Regions from separate parts of the Homo sapiens genome. Here region 2 is linked to region 1. Evidence: promoter capture Hi-C in human tissues and cell types (Jung and others, 2019). All regions are on one chromosome and are shown on one strand. Each heading gives the region's core, a stretch centred on a gene start or on the middle of the fragment in contact. The rest is flanking DNA. Distances are from core to core; before and after follow the strand shown. Region 1 holds the start of MACROD1 (mono-ADP ribosylhydrolase 1). Region 2 holds the start of PYGM (glycogen phosphorylase, muscle associated).

Region 1 (3,050 bases), core at 142-2,641:
AGTGGTGCCATCATGGCTCTCTGTAGCCTTGAACCCTTGGGCTCAAGTGTTTGCCTGCCTCAGCCTCTGGAGTAGCTGGGACTAGAGGTGAGTGTCTACCACCATACCAGGGTAATTTTTTTGTGTGGGGGCGGGTAGAGATGAGGGGGTCTCACTATATTGCCCAGGCTGGTCTTGAACTCCTGGCCTCTAATAATCCTCTTGCCTCAGCCTCCCAAAGTGCTGGGATTACAGGTGTGAGCACTTATTCATTATTCATTATTACATTCATTATATTATTATAATGGCCCGGCCTGTATTCATTATATTTATCATAAAGTAATATTAATAGTACATAAAAATATATAAAAGTACTTAAAAATCCATCCTCGTGTTTTTTGTTTTGTTTTCTTTGAGACAGAGTCTCGTTCTGTCACCCAGGCTGGAGTGCAATGGCACGATCTCGGCTCACCGCAACCTCCGCCTTCCGGGTTCAAGTGATTCTCCTGCCTCAGCCTCCCGAGTAGCTGTAATTAACAGGCATGCACCACCACGCCTGCATAATTTTTGTATTTTTAGTAGAGACGGGGTTTCGCCATGTTGGCCAGGCAGGCCTCGAACTCCTGACCTCGTGATCCACCCAACTCGGCCTACCAAAGTGCTGGGATTACAGGCGTGAGCCACCGCGCCCGGCCGGTTTTTGTTTAAAAAAGAAAAGAAAAAAAAAAAAAAACACACAGACACACACAAAAACATCACCCCAATCCTTCCACCCTTGAACGCCACTTGAAGCCTAAGTTTCCTGCCTCCAAATTCCACTATTTCCACCCTCGACTCTCCTCCCCAGCTGTCCTAGATTCTGCTCCAGCTGAGCCTTGGCCCCGGGGCTGTTAGAAGGCAGAGGCTCTGGGGAGAAGTCCCCAAACCGGATTTACCCGTTCGTCGCACCTGTCCCTAGGAGGGCAGGCTGGGGTGTGGAGGCGGTGCCCTGCTGACCCGCGGGGAGAGAAGCCCGGGTCTCCCAGGCTGCAAAACGCTCGGCACTGCGGAAGCCGCGCCAGGCTCTCCCAGCTCGATACGCAGCGGCCGGCGCGCCTGCTCCGCCGCGGGGCCGAGCGGCAGAGGGGCCCGGGGCTGCGTGGAAGGCCCGGGGGCTTCAGCCCGTGCCGGGGAAGCCGACGCTCAGCCAACCAGAAAGTTAGAGGCGGCCGAGGTCTCGCGGAGGGGAGGCGCCTGGCGGCCACGGGAGAAGTCGAAGGGCTCAGGCGGGGCTCCATCCGCGACACTGGGAGCCCGGGCGGGCGCGCACGTGTGTATACGAGTGCGTGGGCCCATCCGGCGGCCCGGACTACAAGTTCCAGGGTGCCCAGCGGCGCTCCCGGGTTTTCTGGCCGCGCCTCCCGCTGGCTCCGAGCAGGTCGCCGCTGGCTGGCAGTCGCCACCCGGTCCCAGAGTAAATAAGGGAGAGACACTCCCGAGCGCCGTAAATAGAGTCCAAGTGGGCGGAGAGCCGTCCCGCGCCGCCCGCTCATGTCTCTACAGAGCCGACTGTCCGGCCGCCTGGCACAGCTGCGCGCGGCGGGGCAGCTGCTCGTCCCCCCGCGCCCCCGGCCCGGACACTTGGCGGGTGCCACGAGGACCCGCAGCAGCACGTGCGGTCCCCCGGCGTTCCTGGGCGTGTTCGGCCGCCGTGCGCGGACCTCGGCGGGAGTTGGGGCGTGGGGGGCGGCGGCGGTGGGGCGGACAGCCGGGGTGCGCACTTGGGCCCCCCTGGCCATGGCGGCGAAGGTGGACCTGAGCACCTCCACCGACTGGAAGGAGGCGAAATGTAAGTGTAAGCACGAGGGGGCGCGAGGGAGAGGGCGGCCTCACGTGGAGCTTCCCGGCTGGGCGGCCCCCAACGAGCGAGCAGCCCCTTCCACCCGAGAGACCTGGGGAAGTTGAGGCCCCATCTGCCCTGGAACGGACCCCTCCTCCCCATTGACAGCCCCCCCCGCCCCCGCGCGTGTTCCCAGCCCCACAGAACAATTCACTCCAGACCAGGTCCAAGTGTCCACGCAGGGGGCAGCGTGAGGAAGGCGGCCTTCCTTACCCCATTGGAATGGGTCACAGGGCACCCCAGAGATTGTGCAGGACCTACCAACTTCCTTCCCTGTGCAGGAGGGAAACTGAGGCCGAGTGCCACAGCTGGCTTCCCCAAGGTCACTCGGAGCTGGTGGCAAAGTGGAGGTTATGATCCCGGACTCTCCAAACTTTGCACAGTGTGGTTCTTAAGTGTTCGGGAATGGGGCTGAGGGAACAGCTCCGGGGCTGGCGTCCCACCTGGTGGGGCACGTAACCTCACAGAGTGACCTTCCTGGGCTGGCCTGTCCTGCCTCCACCCCACCCCAAGCCCGCACTCTGATGCCTTCCTGGGCACGTGGTCTGGCGCCCTTTTCCCCTTCTCGCTGGCCTCTGGCCACTTGTGAGCAGTTTGCTCATGCCAGGAACAGAGGTTAGAGGAGCAGGGCAGAGGTGGGGTCTTGTCCCTGTGACAACTGATGACACCCTTCAAGAATCACACCACTTCCTCTTGCTCCTGGAGGGGGCATGAGTCTGGGGCCTGGGGAGAGAGAGAACCCAAGCTGCCGCTACTGAGCCCCAAATAGCCCTGCCGGGCACCCAGCTGCCCCTGCCTTTCAGGGCCTGCCTCCTGGGATCCTGTGACTCTTCCCGGCTGGATCCCCTTTCAAAAGTGCAGGGAAGTGGCTAATTGGCTGGGCCTCCGTGGTGGAGTAGGTGTGGCCTCTGGGCTGGGCAGGCAGGATGGGGGGGTCCTGCGGTGTTAGGGGTGAAGAGAAGATGGCTTTCTCGGGACCAGAGGTGGAAATCAAAATGATTTACTCCTGACATGAATTGTGTGGCCTGCGCCAGGATCTAAAAGTGACGGCAGAAAGCACCGACTTTAGCCCGTGAGCAGATGGAGAACTTGTCAGGCACTTGGCCCTTGCCCCAGAACAGCAGGAGGAGTTTGGGGCTGGCAGAGACCCCTGGAGGGGGAGCCACTGTCCCCACAGAGACCCCTGCTCCCC
Region 2 (3,050 bases), core at 480-2,979, 590 kb before region 1:
GCAGGGCTTGGGAGCCTGGAGACCTCTGTAGGACTTGAAGTTTGGCCCACATACTAAGCCGGTGATTCCAGGGCTGGGTCTGCCATGGCTCAGAAAGTGATCGGAGGCCGGGCGCTGTGGCTCATGCCTGTAATCCCAGCATTTTGGGAGGCCAAGGTGGGCGGATCACCTCAGGTCAGGAGTTCCAGACCAGCCTGGTCCAACATGGTGAAACCCCGTCTCTACTAAAAATACAAAACTTAGCTGGGCATGGTGGTGGGTGCCTGTAATCCCAGCTACTCAGGAGGCTGAGGCAGAATTGCTTGAGCCCAGGAGGCGGAGGTTGCAGTGAGCTGAGATCATGCCATTGCACTCTAGCCTGGGCGACAAGAATGAAACTCTACCTCAAAAAAAAAAAAAAAAAAGTTCTCAGAAACAGCTTGGCTTTCTCCGAACCAGGCTCTCAATAGTATCCTGCAGCTGTCCAGGCTTTTGACCTGCTTCCTTGGCCTTCAGAACAGAACACCCAGCTCTTCCCCTCCACCGGCCCACCACCCGGGAGGCCCAAACAGCCTTTGAACTAGCACAAGGTCCTGGTTCCTTTCTCTTAAAGAACAGCAGGATCCGAAGCCTGCCCTCACAAGATGAGGAGGCAGCAGCTGAGAGGCAGGGATTTTTTTTTTTCTCATTGGAGAGTCTAAATTTGGTGAAGGAATCCAAAGCTCAGAAAGGTAAAGCAACCAGCTTGAGGTCACACAGCAAGTCAGTGCTGGGGCCAGAACACAGCAGTGAATGGGAGGATAGCCAAAGCCTCCAGGGAAGGGCTCAAAGCTGTGGGGCTATGCACACAAATGGGGTGAGGTCCTCGAGGTACAGATTAGGCACCCATTTTATAGGCCAGGTCACAGAGCTGGTTTACAAAATCCTGCTCAGAGTGTGGCCCCAGGTGGCAGGAAGAAGTGAAAGAAGGCCTCTAATCACTTCCTAAGCAGTGGAATCACAGGGAGAACTTACTGTCATTAAACCAGTATGATGATGGAGTGGGGAATGCCTCAGTTTCTCCCACCGCCGAGGGCCTATAGGACTACAGTTCCCAGGGCCCCGTGCTGCAGGCTAGCGGCCTCCCGCCAATGCTGGCCAGTAACCTGAGCATCCCTCTCCAAAAGGTCACTTCAGGGCTCCTTGAGGGACAGCAACAGGGGGAGCCTAGAGCTGCTCAGCTTCGGTGGGGGTGGAGTGAGGGCTGTGGCCCTGCCTCACACAACCTCCCTCACACCACCCCTGCAATGCAGGGTCGTGGGCCCCTTTCTCAAAGACATCCAGTGGCCTCTGCTAGTTGCACCTCTTCCGTCAGGGGACACTGACTTGGCTCCTGCACCACAGCCTGCAGGGGGTCCTGGTTCCTTTTGCCACAACACATGGCCTCCCATCCTGGTTCAGCCACTGACAGACAGCTCCCCAATCCAGCACTCTGCCTGCTCCTTCTTGTATCCAACCCTCCAAAAGGCAGGGACAAGGGACAGAAGACCATGTGCAAGGCCTGGAGGAAGTGGGTCAGCACAGGCCTGTGAACAAGCCAGGCCAGTCTTGGCGGCCCAAGTGGAGCTCACCTCTCCCTCCCCTCTCCTCTCCTCCCCTTGCCCTCAAAATAGCTCCCTGAGCTGCCAGGCCAAGACCCTCCCATTGCAGGGGAGGCGGGGCGTGCTGCCCAGAGCCAGGCTTTAAATCCCCTTGAGGCTGGGGAGCTCCACTCCTTGGCTGGAGGCAGTGCTGAGGCCGCCGTCCCCTCTACCATCAGTCCAGTCCGGCCCGCCCTCCTGCAGCCATGTCCCGGCCCCTGTCAGACCAAGAGAAAAGAAAGCAAATCAGTGTGCGTGGCCTGGCCGGCGTGGAGAACGTGACTGAGCTGAAAAAGAACTTCAACCGGCACCTGCATTTCACACTCGTAAAGGACCGCAATGTGGCCACCCCACGAGACTACTACTTTGCTCTGGCCCATACCGTGCGCGACCACCTCGTGGGGCGCTGGATCCGCACGCAGCAGCACTACTATGAGAAGGACCCCAAGGTGCTGCTGGGGAGCCTGGGGTGGGGGTATGGGCTGAAGGCGCTGCCAGGGAGCTGGCGATCTTGACTTAAGTGGCTGCCCCTCGTCACTCTAGGTTCTTGGGGGTGGAGAATCCAGGGGTGCCAGGCACAAGGGGTGCTGGGACAATCTGAGGGAGAAACCTGGGGCAGGAGTGGGGGTCAGGGAGCTCAGAGCAGGTGGGCTGGCTGCAAAGGGTCAGTGCCCACTCGGAGAAGGTTGGAGTGGGTGCTGGTGGGCAGGACGGCGCCTGTGGCCTGGCTGGGCCCAGGTGGAAGGACACATCAGTTGCTGCATGTATGCGCGGTGTGCCTGTGCAGCAGGCGGGGCTGGGGCAGCTGGGGCGGCAGAGATCAAGTGTCCGGTGGGGTCACTGGTAAATGTCAGCAACCTGACACGCCTCGGTGGGGAGTGGGGGAGGGGCGGGCAGACGGCCCAGGAGGGGACCCAGGAAACTGGGAGACCAGGCACTGGCAGCATCCTAGTTTCTGGTGCCTCTGGGTCTCCTTGGGATTGAGGCTTGAGGGCCAAGGGGAACTGGACAGTGCAAGGATGGGAGGTGACAGTCTCTAGCCCAGTCTCTAGCCACTGTGTGACCTTGAGCAAATGACTTTTTTCTCTGGGGGTGTGTGCAGGGGGAAGGGGTGCCCATTCTCCCGAGTACCTCAGTCCCTGAAGTGGGTATGGCCAGCGCTATTTCCCAGATGAGGAGACTGAGGCCAAAGAGAGTGATTTGTCCAAAGTCAGAGGAATGCTGGGACCAGAACCTTAACCGCTGGGCCCCAAAGCCTGAGACAGGGAGAAACAAATTGGGGACAGGGATGGGACTGCTGAGCAGGGCAGGCGGGCCAGAGGTCCAGGCGTGGCTGGGCCTGGCTGAGTGTTGGTGTGTGGCCCTGACCCCATTCCCTGCCCATCCGTCTCTCTGGGCAGAGGATCTACTACCTGTCTTTAGAGTTCTATATGGGACGGACGCTACAGAACA

Evidence for each region. The method cuts DNA at HindIII sites, captures the fragments that hold promoters and counts their contacts. A contact is called where the count stands out against the background at its distance.
Region 2: the fragment with the promoter of PYGM here is called in contact with the fragment with the promoter of MACROD1 in region 1 in 1 of the 25 tissues and cell types used here (small bowel).

What each region holds. Positions count from the first base shown.
Region 1 is chr11:64,164,454-64,167,503 of GRCh38, reverse strand. MACROD1 (mono-ADP ribosylhydrolase 1) reads left to right here and starts at 1,391. Exons shown (of 11, transcript NM_014067.4): 1 at 1,391-1,807. The coding sequence starts at 1,510. It overlaps LOC105369339 (a long non-coding RNA gene), which reads right to left and starts at 1,266. Exons shown (of 3, transcript XR_950187.3): 1 at 915-1,266. RefSeq lists silencers at 1,005-1,264, 1,525-1,604, 1,735-1,834 and an enhancer at 1,372-1,872. The HindIII fragment of the contact is 20,905 bases long and covers 1-3,050 here.
Region 2 is chr11:64,758,653-64,761,702 of GRCh38, reverse strand. It overlaps PYGM (glycogen phosphorylase, muscle associated), which reads left to right and starts at 1,729. Exons shown (of 20, transcript NM_005609.4): 1 at 1,729-2,047; 2 at 2,999-3,050. The coding sequence starts at 1,805. RefSeq lists enhancers at 912-1,614, 1,615-2,319, 2,320-3,023, 3,024-3,050. The HindIII fragment of the contact is 11,504 bases long and covers 1-3,050 here.